Regions from separate parts of the Homo sapiens genome. Here region 1 is linked to region 2. The links are contacts of gene promoters, found by promoter capture Hi-C in blood cells and fetal thymus (Javierre and others, 2016). All regions are on one chromosome and are shown on one strand. Each heading gives the region's core, a stretch centred on a gene start or on the middle of the fragment in contact. The rest is flanking DNA. Distances are from core to core; before and after follow the strand shown.

Region 1 (6,673 bases), core at 2,788-5,287, 610 kb after region 2:
TTTTCTACTCTCATTTCTTTTACTGAGTCACTATATAAAAATCCAGTGTTGTATTTTGCACATGTACACAATATAATAGAATTCCTAAAGAATCTAATGAAGTGCACAAGTGTAAGAAGCCCATTGCTGAAACAGGACAATTAGGGACAACAGGACACATGATTTTTCTGCATTTTATTTTCAAATATCTCTTAAACTGAATAATGTTCTAAACCTGATTGAACCTTCATATTCCCATTCTCAGATTACTTGTTTCTGGTTATTCTTCTCCACAGCTTCTCTTCTTCCCAGGTCATCAGGCAGGTAGTTGCAAATATAATATTGCTCTTGTCATTCATATGCTAAAAATTGTAAAGGGCTGTATCCCACCATCACTTCTAGACCTTAAGTTGTCACATAAACAACTCACCCATCCCACTCCCACCCAGGACCTTTCTTCTTTGCCACACACATGTCTACCAAGTCTCCTCGAGGGTACTCAATAAGCCAAGGACTTCTTCATACTTCACAAATCTTAGCTATTTTCTTATCTTGAACTGTGTTCATAATCTCCCCTTTGGTTGGCATGCTCGTCCATTGAATTCGCTTCCACAGACACTTAGCAAGTATTTACTGTTTCCCAGAAACTGTGTTAGGTAACAGACACAAAATGTAAATATGTCACAGTTGCCTTCAAGGATACTTCATCATTCTTTTAATCTTTATTTGTCAATTTTTTTCTTTTGTCTTTTCTTTAACACTACTTAAGATCCTCTGAGACAAAAAATTTTCACCTCACCTGATAATGCTTATTCTTTTACTCCATACATCTTTTTATTCCATATTCCACAATTTTTTAATTATACTATGTCATCTCTAATTTCTTAGGTCAGGTTTTCTCTGGGAAATGCTTTGACAGTGCTTGAACTGATATGAATATTCACATATTCTAAAATAACATCATTTAGTAGCATATACACAAAGCATCATCTCTATATTCTGAAACTTTTATATAATAAATATATATAATATGAATTTCTAGAAAAGACTACAATAACCTATGGTGAAAATCGTAACATTTATTGCTTCTGGAAGTTGGGGACAGGGATTGACTGGCAAAGGACATGAGAGAACTTTAAAGATTAAGGTAACGTTCTGTATTTTAATAGGCATTTGCATTATACAGATACATTTGTCTAAACTCATTGAACAATTATGATTTTGTGCATTTCGTTGTATGCACATTTTACCTTTCTCTGTCTTTGATTTGTATTTATTTCTTAGCTGTTATATACCTTTCTTCCAGTTCCTTTATTAAACTTTTAGGCAAATCTATCCTTAGGCATCTTACAATTTAAAAGATTACTGTGTTTTTCATGTATTTTTTCTCCCCGTTTGGTTGACTCTTGTTTCCCATCGCTTCCCCATTCTGTTCCTGTTCTAAATTTTTGAATTTCTAATTTATGGTGTTTTTTCTCCCCTAATATTTGCAAATGGTTGTTTGAGGTTAATTCAGATTAGGTTGTGTTAGGGATTTTTTCTGCTGCATGAATGGTATTTATTAGGGGCAGAATTTTCATCAGCTGAAATAAAATGTTAGGCTTCTAAATTTCTACTTTATTCTTATAATAACTTTATGTGACTGTCATCTGTCATATTTTTGCTTTGATTTTTTATGTGCTAATATAATTATTATTAACCTTTGAGAATTTGAGGAAGATAACTAGGTTTTTTTGTTCAAGGGTATTTCACTTGATATGGTGAAATATTATAGTTTCTTTAACCAATGTACTTGTTTGGTTGGGAAAAACTTGGTGTCTTCTGATTTTGTGACCCTCTTTTTGTTTTAACAGGAATATTCATTTCCCCCTTTTGCTTCCTTTTTCTTCTTTTACCTCTAAGGCACCAAGGGCGCAATCTTCTTGACACTTCTATTTACTTGGAAGTGGTGCCATTCTGAAACTCTTGCCTTGGGCTCCATTGATTTTCAAGTTCCTGTCTTTCAATTCCCCATCAGTCACCTACAAGAGCTCAAACTAACTCTCAGTATTTTCTTGCTCTGAGTGGCACTTGGTTTGAGCAATTTTATCTGTATTTTACCATCCCCATTCTCCCTACCCTACATCCCTCATCTATATTCCCATCTTGCCCTCATCTCTGCTTGTCTCCCATTGGGTGTAGGCTCTAGATACAATTTTGCTTGTCTCAAGTGTTTATTTTCCTATTGGTAGGTAATTTAAAATCTATTTCCTAGCTACATTAAAGGTATAGGTTATGAGTGAATTTTCTTTTCCTGACAATCAGCATGATTTTTTTTGGAGGATGTGAAGGGAGATTTAGATTTAAAATAAGTCCATTTTTTTCCTATGAAAACATGGAAATACTTAGAATTCCTTTTCTAAAATCCAGATAATTTACATTAAATCCCACAATGAAAAACATTGCAAGCCATAGTCTTGCTGTAAGTTCATTGTACTCTGCATCCAAAAGTAATGGATTTCAGAGCTGTGTAATTCAGAACTATTTCCCCAAAGCGCAGACTCTTAGTAAAAGGCAACATTTGGGAATTTCAGACCATCTGTTGTATAATTGGTAATGAAATAATGGTACCAAGATTAAGCAGAATTAGTTCTGCTATACTGAGTGTATACAACCCAATTAGTCAATTTTTGGTGTTGGTAAAATCCACAATTTCCCAAAACAGGTGTATATATATATATATGGGTGAAAGGAACTCTACGGGTGGTCCAGTAACTGAAAAGGGAAACTATGACCACTGAACCATCAGAAATTACCATCTGATGGGTTAAAAAAACAGTAAAATTCAGTAATTTCATATGGTTCAACTTAGTATATATTCTGTCTGGGGAAAATAAACAATCACTTTTAAACAATTGTTTTGGTAGCTAGTATGAAGGCTGGAGCGTGAATAAAGATTTCACACTAGGCAGTTTCATAGATGGTATAAAATCCCTCTCACAACATAATGAATGGGAAATTTTTTTGATAATACTAAGCTAATTAGGGTTAAGATAACCCTGATAAATTTATCAATATATGGGTACTTAACAATCACCTCCTGGTCCTCCTTAGAGAGGGATGCATCAAGTAGAGAACTTCCTAGACTGGTTTCTAATGCTTTTAAACTCGAAGATGCCATTAAATCTGATTAGTATTCTTCCATGCCTTCATCTATCTAAATATATTTGTTGAAAGCTTAATATTTACTAAGCATAGTGCTATGTTTTGGAATCCAGCAAAGAAAACACACAAAGCTTATTCTAAAAAATACAGACCCCTATTCAACCCATAATAATTATGCTATCCACCTTTTGTTAGAGCTGGGAAAATTTGGGGGGAGGAGTGAATTTTAGTAGGAATAATCTGCAAAATTCAAAGTTGAGATGACTGTACAGGAATGTAACACAAAGCTGTACTGTTTTACAGTGATACAGAGGTACTGAACAGGAAAGCACGAGGGCTCTGGCATGATGCTGTGTCCCTCTGGAAGAAGAGACTCACTTTCCAATTTTTACAAAAGTATACAATGGGTAAATAGAGTCCATGAAAATGAGAGATAAGGTGGAAATGGCTAGTAGGTAGTTGCTCAGAGCTGCATCTGAAAACCACTTTGAAAGCCCAAGATGACTTATCTCCATCATTCTGGCCCCTGTCCACACATGAAAAGTGCTGAAAAGAGATCTTACCACCTCTGAGTCAGGCTTTTGTGTGGTACCCACATTTGTAATTGTAGATACAATTCACTTTAATTGGGAAGAGTCCTTAAAAGATCATCTAGTTGACACAATTCTTTGACTGAAGAATCAGAGAAGTAGATAAGTGATACTTTTGAAGGACATATGAAGTGCTTAAGTATTCTGAAGGTAGGACAACTTTTACTGCAGTAACTAATGATCCCCAAACCCCAAATGCTTATAACAATGAAAATTTCTTGCTCACTCTATACATCTGACATGGGGCTACACTTACAGAGTCTTTCAGGAACCTAGGCTGATGGAGGCTATATCCCTGTAGCAGGAAGAAGGGAAGTTGGTGAAGGGTATACTGCCTTTTAGAGCTTTCATGTAGAGGTAATGCATGTAACTTCTCAGTTTTTTATTGTCAAAGCAAAGGGGTTAGATTTTGATCCTATGTGTACAGAAATAGAGCTGTCATATTTATGAAAAGCCTTAATGATTACTATACCAGGTTAAGGAAGGAAATGTGGGTACCACACAAATCAACTATACATTTTTTGAATTATATACTCAGTAAAAAATCATCACTGTATTAAGATATATGGAAAGTGGCTATCTTCCCTCTGGGTTATAACGTTACAATAGCTATGATAACAAAACACCATTTGATAATAGATGAAGTTTTTAAAAAGGTTTTGATGTAGGCAGAGTATAAATCATATAAAAGCTCATATTATTATTTTCTATTGAAAGGAGACAGAAAGAAAAAGCATAAACGGTATTTCTGCTCTATTCTATATAGCTTACTCTAAAGACCTATGCTGTGATCTTTATTTATTGGAAACACTAAAATGAAGGCTTATTACATTTTATGGCATTCCAGTCCATCTTTTTAGTATAGTATATAGAATAATTGCAGCAGGCAGTGTCTTTTGCATACCCAATAGCCACTTTCTCTTCCCTTTCTGGTAGAATCCTGACTTGTTTCAGTATCTCCTCTGCCCACGTAAGACTTGTGAGAAAATGCTAATTGATCAAATTTAATCATTGTCATGCTATTCCCTTGCCCGTGTTATATTCAGAAGTGAATTTATCACTTTTCTGGACAGTGACTAATGAGGGATAGTCTGAAGGAAAGCTTTCTTCACTTTGAAAAATAACAAAGACAGTAATTTTTCTTGCTGGGTATTGTCAAGTCTGTATGGGATAACTGGAACTGTAGCAGCCATCTTATGAGAATGAAAGAAATGGTTTAGAAAAAACAGGCTGAGGAACTTGGAGGGCCCTAAAATTCCTGAGCTCCATCTTTTGTTACACAAGATTAAAAAAAATAAAAAATTCCCCAGTTCTTTAAGCCAGTGCTTCTTAAAATGCTGGCTTGATATAAGATGAAGAGCTTTCCTGGAATGTATATCAACACACTTTCCTTCATTAAGGGTTTGTCTGCAAAGAAAAAGAGATATCAGATAGACTAAACAGTGGTGACATAGTTGAGTTACATTTTGGTGCAAATTTAAACTCATTTTTTTTCAACTGGATTATTTCAATACATTTATGTTTGGTGGGAGAACCAATTTCCAACTATCCAGGAAAAATTCATTTTTATTCATAAAGCATTGAAACATACATTTAGTGCGTAAGAGGCCTAGAATTTGTTTTTAGGTAATTTTTATTCTTGGCTTCAGATTATTGAAAGGATTAATAGAATAGAGTGTTAATGGATCACCAGCTAAATTATAGATGCAGGATACATGAATAAAGAAGGCTCTCTGGGCTCAGAAAGATCACAAGCTGGTATGAAAGGTAGATAAGGAAATCAGTAATTACAGTACCTGCTGAATTATAAGGCTGTTTACAGGGTGTTAGAGATTTATGTGGAGTGTGTTAAATCAGGAAGGGACTGGGTTTGGTGGCACATGCCTATAATCTCTCAAAGGAGGAGTAATTGCGGCCAGGAGTATGAGACCAGCCTGGGCAATACAGTGAGACTCAGTCTCCTCAAAAAATAAAAAGTACTAGCCAGGGATGGTGACAAGCCCCTGTAGCCACAACTACTCCAGATGCTGAGGCAGGAGGATCCCCTGGAGGGTGGCAGCCAGCTATGATTGTGCCACTGTACTCCAGCCTGGGTGACAAATCGAGACCCTATCTCTTAAAAAAATAAAATAAAAAGGGAAGGCTTTATAGAAAAGGTGGCACCTGAGCTAAATTAAGACTTGGAGGTGGTACATAAAACTGTGTGATATGGCTGGGATGAGGCTGAAACTATAGGGAAGTGACCATTGTCATGGTGAGGTGTCTTACAGTGAGTAAAATGATGACTTGCATTTTAGCACTATCATTCTGGCATCACTTTTGAAGACACAGTGTCTACAGCACAGACCAATCTATTAACTATTGCAGAATTGCTCTGGGATCAACTTTAACGACTTACACAATGCCCATTATACTTCCCCCATCTCGCTTGTTTCAATTAAGCACTCTACACTAAAAGCTTAAGAAAATTTGCCTCAATTTAGGTGTATTTTCTTTTTTTTTTTTTCTGTTTTCTTTTTTGAGACAGTCTTGCTCTGTCTGCCAGGCTGGAGTGCAGTGGTGTGACCTCGGGTCACTGCAACCTCTGCCTCCTGGGTTCAAGCAATTCTCCTGTCTCGGCCTCCTAAGTAGCTGGGATTGTAGGCGCCCACCACTACACCCAACTATTTTTTTGTATTTTTAGTAGAAATGGGGTTTCACCATGTTGGCCAGGCTGGTCTCGAACTTCTGACCTCGTGATTCACCCACCTCGGCCTCTGAGTGCTGGGATTACAGGTGTGAGCCACTGCGCTGGGCCTCTATTTTCATTTTTAATCTTCACAACTACACCAAATTAGATAAAAGGGAGGTACAGATTGTCGAAGACGAGGAATTTATCAACCCTGGCTTTGAATCCAGCCAAGACTTAGTTCTGAGCCCACATTCTTAACCTCTATGGTCTCTGCAGCAAAACCTAAGAC
Region 2 (6,384 bases), core at 3,719-6,218:
TTCGCTGCAGTTAGGTATGAATTCCCTGCAGTTAGGTATACCCATTAAGATGAAATCCAGCCAGTGGAATATTAGAGAAAGTACTGTGTGTCATTTTTAGACCAGGTCCATGGCATCCTACATGCTCCTTCCTTTTTTCGCTTGTTGGATGTTGATGCCCAGTGTGTTCTTGGAAGATGTGTATGCAAGTCAGCAGTCTCCTTTAGTCCTGGTCCCTGGATGACTGTGGTGGACCAAAAAACAAACAAACAATGCTACATGAAAACCTTCAGCTGCCTTGGTCTGCTTATGTATAAGAGAAATAAATTTTCATTATATTTGAATCATTATTTTGGGTCAACTTCTTATAGCTGTTAGGCAGTTAACTTACCTTAACTAATTTGTTAAGTGCCCTAGACAAAGTGCCCCATGAGAGAATACACTTGTGATTTCCTTCTTTCTTTGTGACTGAGAACAGTTGCCAACTTCCTCCCTGTGGCCTTGTCTTTCTGCCTGAGAGTCTTCACTATTGCCTAACTTCTGAGCTTGTTGTATCATTTCTGGATAAAACAATGTGTTGTCATATCATTTTGTGTTCAAAAGTGCTAGCCACTCCAACCCTAATCTCAACTGTTTCATGTCTGTTAAGTCGAAGTACCCTAGCCAGTTCAGTTGAAATTTCCATTTATTCAATATAATCCTGGATGAGAAGCGGTCAAGATTTGATAATCCTTAAGTGGCACGGTTGGTCCACATTTGAACCTGAGGCACCAGAGAGGCCAGGGTATTACCAACTTCCATGCTTTGCTATGACTCACCAGCACTGTGAATGTTACTCTGCTGTAGTCAAAGCAAAGCTGGACTGAAATTCTCTGTCTTTCCCAACACTAATGGATCTAAGGGGAATATTAGAAGCACAACTGGAATTGTTATGAAAGAAGTTAGATTTGTAATCTTGAGGCCTGACATAGCAGAAAGTGGGTTAAACATTTACACTCTGAAGTGTATTATTTACACTCCAAAAAGGGTAGGGGCCATCCTAGTTATAAATAAATTCATTCAGATGTGGCTAATATGATACTTTAGGTACAGAATGAAGAACAGGAAGGGTAGTGGCACCTATTAAGTGGACTTCACAATCTTTTTTATTTCTGGTAACAGCTTTTCATATACATGGGAACATGATGGGACTTTATTTGCTTATTCATTTCTTTAAAAAGCTTTTCATTTTGAAAAAAGTTCAAGATTAGAAAAAAGTTACTAAGTATGACACAGAATTCCTATATTTACTTCATCAAACTAGTCTTAGCATCTTACCACACAGCAAGTATCAAGCAGGAAATATTGAGAAAATATTAACTAATTTATAGATCTCATTCAAATTTCATTATTTATTTCCCTAATGTTTTTATCTGATCCACACATTGCATTTAGGTGTCGTGTCTCCTTGGTCTCTTCCAATCTGTAAGAGTTCCTCAGTCTTTCCTTGACTTTCAGTTCCCTGTCTTCCATAACTTTGATACTTTTAAAGATAACTGGTCAGGTTCGTTTTTGTTTTTTCTTGTACTCACTGACAGCAGATGGTCAGGTATTTTGAAGAATGTCCCTCAGTATGTGTTTGATGTTTCCTCATAATCACATTCGGTTTAGGCATTTTTTGCAAGACTAGGACAGCAGTCTTTCTGTCTTTCTCAGTGTGTCATAGTAGAAGACACATGATTGATACATCTCAGTACTGATTATGTTACCCTTGAGACACATTGATATCATGTGCCCCTTGACATTATTCACTGAGAAAAGGCACAACATGTTCAGACATGCTCTTCTCCTTTTCATTGGCTGAATGTTTTTGTTTAGAGTGACCCTGGAAGTTATCTGTGGTAGATAAAACCTCCTTCAGATTGGGTCCCCAAATGATTGTGTGGAGCAGAATCACCTCCAGCTTCACCCACTAACTTAGAGTTATGTTGGTCTGTTCATGTGTAAGAAAAACAAACTTTTATTGTGTTTGAGACATTGTACATTTTGGTTCTTTTCACCCTCTTCAGCTTCCCAAAGTGCTGGGATTACAGGCAAGAGCCTGTAGAAGAGTCATTTGCCTACTTCATTACATTACCTAGGATTAGTTAGATTCACTTCCCTGCTGGGGAAAGCACTTCATCCAAAAACATTTCTGTGATTTTCTTCTCTTTTATTGATAGTTGCTAAGTCTGTCTCTGTAGCACACATCTCCCATCAATATTTCTATTTAGTTCGTTTCAAACTCAAGTACCCTGAAATATTTTAAGTTTAACATCCCACTCCTATCTTTAATTGTACCATATTTCAAGTTGTCATTAAGAACCCCCAAATTCATCTTTTTTCACGGTATTTAATAAGATTTATCAACATGTTCACCAAGTATTATTTTTTACAGACATTGCTTTTTGCATTCTGCATACTTCAGCAGTTATTTTAAAGAGGGTCTGCAAGTGGTACATTCTGTCTTATTCTGAGAAATGTTTATTTCACAATACATCTTGAATGATAGTTTTGCTCTTTGAAAATAACTCTTTTCTAGTATCAAACTTGTAAAACTGAAAATGGATTAAATTCACCTGAAAAATACAGAGATTCCCAGATTGGATTAAAAAAACTAAGTTTAGGCTATATGCTTTTTTAAAGAATCACACCCAAAATATAATAATCTCAAGAGGCTGGGCGCAGTGGCTCTTGCCTGTAGTCGCAGCAGTTTGGGAGGCTGAAGCGGGTGAATAGCTTGAGCTCAATAGTTCGAGATCAGCCTGGCTAACATGGTAAGACCCCATCTCTACTAAAAATACAAAAATTGGCCAAGCATGGTGGCACACACCTGTAATCCCAGCTACTCTGGAGGCTGAGGCATGAGAATCACTTGAACCCAGAGATGAAAGTTGCGGTGAGCCGAGGTTGCACCACTACATTCTACCCAGGGCTACAAAGTGAGATTTTGTCTCATAATAGTAATAATCTCAAAAGACTGAAATTATATCAGGTGCTCAGATAATGTTACTTTGTTATAATGTTGATGGGAAAAAAAATTAATTCATGGTTGAGGCTAATGTCTTTGTGAAATTTGCACCTTTTCCCCATGTCTGTGTGGATTTTCTCCAGGTACTCCAGTTTCTTCCCACATCCTGAAGATGTGTATTTCAGGTGGGTGGGCATGTGTCAGCGATCTCAGTCAAGGTGAGTGTGGGTATATGTATGAGTGTGCCCTGTGTTGGGATGGTGTCATGGCCAGGGTTGCTTCCCACCTTGTATCCTGAACTGCTGAATGGGCTTTGGCCTCCTGTAACCTGAACTGGAGTAAGTGGGTTGGAAAATGAAAGAATAAATGAATACAAATTATTATAAGATAAAATATAAAGTATTTGATAATCATACAAATGCAAAATAATAAGAAATGTTGTATGAAAGTGCTTAGAGAGTCTGCCTTATTGAATATTGTTTGTTTTTGAACTGTGTGTTGGTAGGAGGTACTCCTGACAATTTTCACTTTACAAACATTTATTTCTTGATTTAACCTACCACCAGGATGACGGCTGTCACTCACTGATTCACCAAAAATTGGACAAATTGCTTACTTATTTTTGTTGATTTTTCTTAAATGTATGTATAGCTTACATTTATATCAATATTCAACATTAGAAGTGTTTCAAGTCTTCACTTAGAAATTTGTTGATGTTTTTGTGATACAAATATGCCATAGGAACTAATTCTTGTTTATATTAATTAGCCTATAGTAAAACTGGTTTTGTTACATGGCATCTCACTTGAAGTTGAAGTTTCCAAGACCCTATCAACAACGTTGAGAACTTACTGTCATAGGTTGAAAAACTGTACACCAGGAACCGGACCAAAATAGATCTGACAGTAATATTGATATTAGAAAACAACTTTAAGTCTAATAATGATTTTTCTCTAAAGAGGTTGATTACTTCATGATAGAAGGATCATGTCACCATGATGACACAGACTGTTAGTGCACATCAATATCCATTTTGTCCTCTTCTTTTTTGGCATACAACCAAAACTTACATAGGCTTTTTATCATTTTACTGGGCCTATGTAACTGAGTTTTAGCCAGTGGAATATGTCCAAGTGACATTTGCCACTTCTAGGTCTGGCACATTAACACTTGATGTATTACATTTCAGACCCTCTTATCATTCTGCAGTGTGTTTGGCGATCTGTTGTTTAAGATCTATATGCACTGGTTACTGTTGCTTGCCTTCCATTCCTACCCTTACTAATCAGATTCCTATTATAGCTACTTCTGTCCTTGATTCATTTTGTATATTAGATGTGTGTGTGTTCATGTGCATGCATGCACCCTCACATGTAGGTGTATATGGGAGTGGTGGTAAAGACAGGATATTTCTTCAGTTCATGGGATTTTATTTCAGGAGAATTCAAACATTCACGTATTGGAGAAGATGACACATTTCTTGAATGTCTTGGGCTTTGAGCTGAATGCACTAACTAGAAGGGACTTCAGATTGTCCTCCTTCGGGGGAGGTAAGTATATTCTTCATATACAGGTAAGAGTGAAATGATAGAAGAATGTTCCTCCTCTCCTTTTCTTCCTGGACAACAGATCAAATATTTCTCAGATCTTTTACAGCTGAATTGGAGTCACATGGACAGGTATGATCTTAAAATATAAAAAATTATTTTAAAATTACATGCTAAAATTTTATAAAAATAAATGCTAAAACTAACTTAAACGGAAGCATTTGATTAAAAAATTTATCCAAAAAAGTTTGAATTTTATATGAAACAGGATAGAAGATGAAAAAGCTAAAGAAATAAAATATAAATAAATTATGGCTGGGGACAGTGGCTCACACCTGTAATCCCAGCACTTTGGGAGGCTGAGGTGGGAGGACTGATTGAGGCTAGGAGTTTGAGACCTGTTATTTGAGGCACATGGGAAGGAAAGTTTTCTTTGAGATATTCCACATTTTATAATATTCTTCAAGAGATTTACAGAGTTCCTTGAGTGAATTGTTGGTTTGTTCTTAATACTGAATTTCCTATTCAAATTTATTTAGAAGTTCATTTCTTACAGTGATCTCATCTCCTATTAAGATATTCTTCAAGGTAGGTTCTTGGCCAGTTTCTCAATGACAGATTTTTAAAAATATTGTTAATCTTTTTATTAATATGAGAACATAATTGTTCCAGATCTGGAGGCCATCCTTTAAGCTTCTTGCAACAGTCTGGGAGCAAAGAGTTTACTCGCCACTGGGTAGTGGGCCATGGACACCCCAGTCTCCACCAGAAGTTCGGGATTGCAAAATGGGACTCTGGCAGCAAATTTCAAACTGTATGCCAGACCTGGCCCTTTGCAGGTGGGCATCACTAAAAATTTAAATTACCAAAATTGACTCAAGAGTAAATCTATGTCTGAGGAGAAAGCCTTTGGAAAAATTGAATTAGTAAGCAAAAACCTACCCAAAATAAATAACAGTAAGTCTAGAAAATTTTACACAGGGATTACCAACAAACATTCAAAGCACAGAAAAATCTCTTTAGCACAAAATGCTACAAAATACAGAAAAAGAGGAAAATTCTGTAGTTTCTCTCATGAAGTTAATATATTCTAGTTAGCTGAACTAGAAAAATAAGAGAAAGAAAAATTATAGGTTAATCTTCCTTATGAGTACATGCAAGTATCATAAGATGTTGACAAATTGAATCAAGCATTTTAAAAAATGCATTATGATCAAATATGATTTATCCTAGAAATAATGTATGAGAGTTATAAAATTCCCATTAACATTAGGAACAAGCATTAATACTTATTATCTCCACCAATAATCATCATTGCTCTGGAGTTCCTAACCAATGAAATAAGAAAGAAATAACCAGTTATATGGATTAGGGAAGATCAAATATTGATTATTTGAATATTTTTTTTTATAGAAAATCCAATAATTGTACAGCTGAAGAACTGGAATAGGAGAGTTAAGCAAAGTTTCTACATACAAGAGCAAAGTGGTCAAATCAATAGGTTATCTGTAGGCCAGTGCTAATTACATTGACATGGTGGCCTTAAAATTTTTACATGCAATTCATAAATCAGTTTCACTGATATTACTTTACCAGATATTGATATTCTAATGTTGTAATTATACAACTGTATTATTGTGTCAGAAATAAAATTAATAGACCAACAAAACAAAACTCAGAACAGATTCACATATTTGATAACTTGGTGTATGACAAGTGTGACATTAAAATTCAGGAGTAAAATAAAAAAATAACAAATAATGCCGGGATAATTGGTTAGTCACATGGGAAAAAGTCAGAAAGATCTCTGCCTCACTCTATTTACATGGAATATACTTCAGATGAAAGAAACTTAAATACAAAGAGCAA

The links. Contacts are between HindIII fragments. The CHiCAGO score rates a contact against its expected background, and 5 or more counts as called.
Region 1: a fragment that was not itself captured here is called in contact with the fragment with the promoter of LINC01949 in region 2 in 1 of 17 cell types (monocytes); the score reaches 5.2 in monocytes.

Annotation. Positions count from the first base shown.
Region 1 is chr5:86,623,333-86,630,005 of GRCh38, reverse strand. No RefSeq gene overlaps it. Among named protein-coding and RNA genes, the nearest start is that of SNORD138, 6.2 kb to the right of the region's middle. The HindIII fragment of the contact is 1,561 bases long and covers 3,257-4,817 here.
Region 2 is chr5:87,237,785-87,244,168 of GRCh38, reverse strand. It overlaps LINC01949 (long intergenic non-protein coding RNA 1949), which reads left to right and starts at 4,968. Exons shown (of 3, transcript NR_130914.1): 1 at 4,968-5,103; 2 at 5,188-5,354. It overlaps LOC101929380 (a long non-coding RNA gene), which reads right to left. Exons shown (of 4, transcript NR_105018.1): 3 at 1-223. The HindIII fragment of the contact is 4,009 bases long and covers 1,202-5,210 here.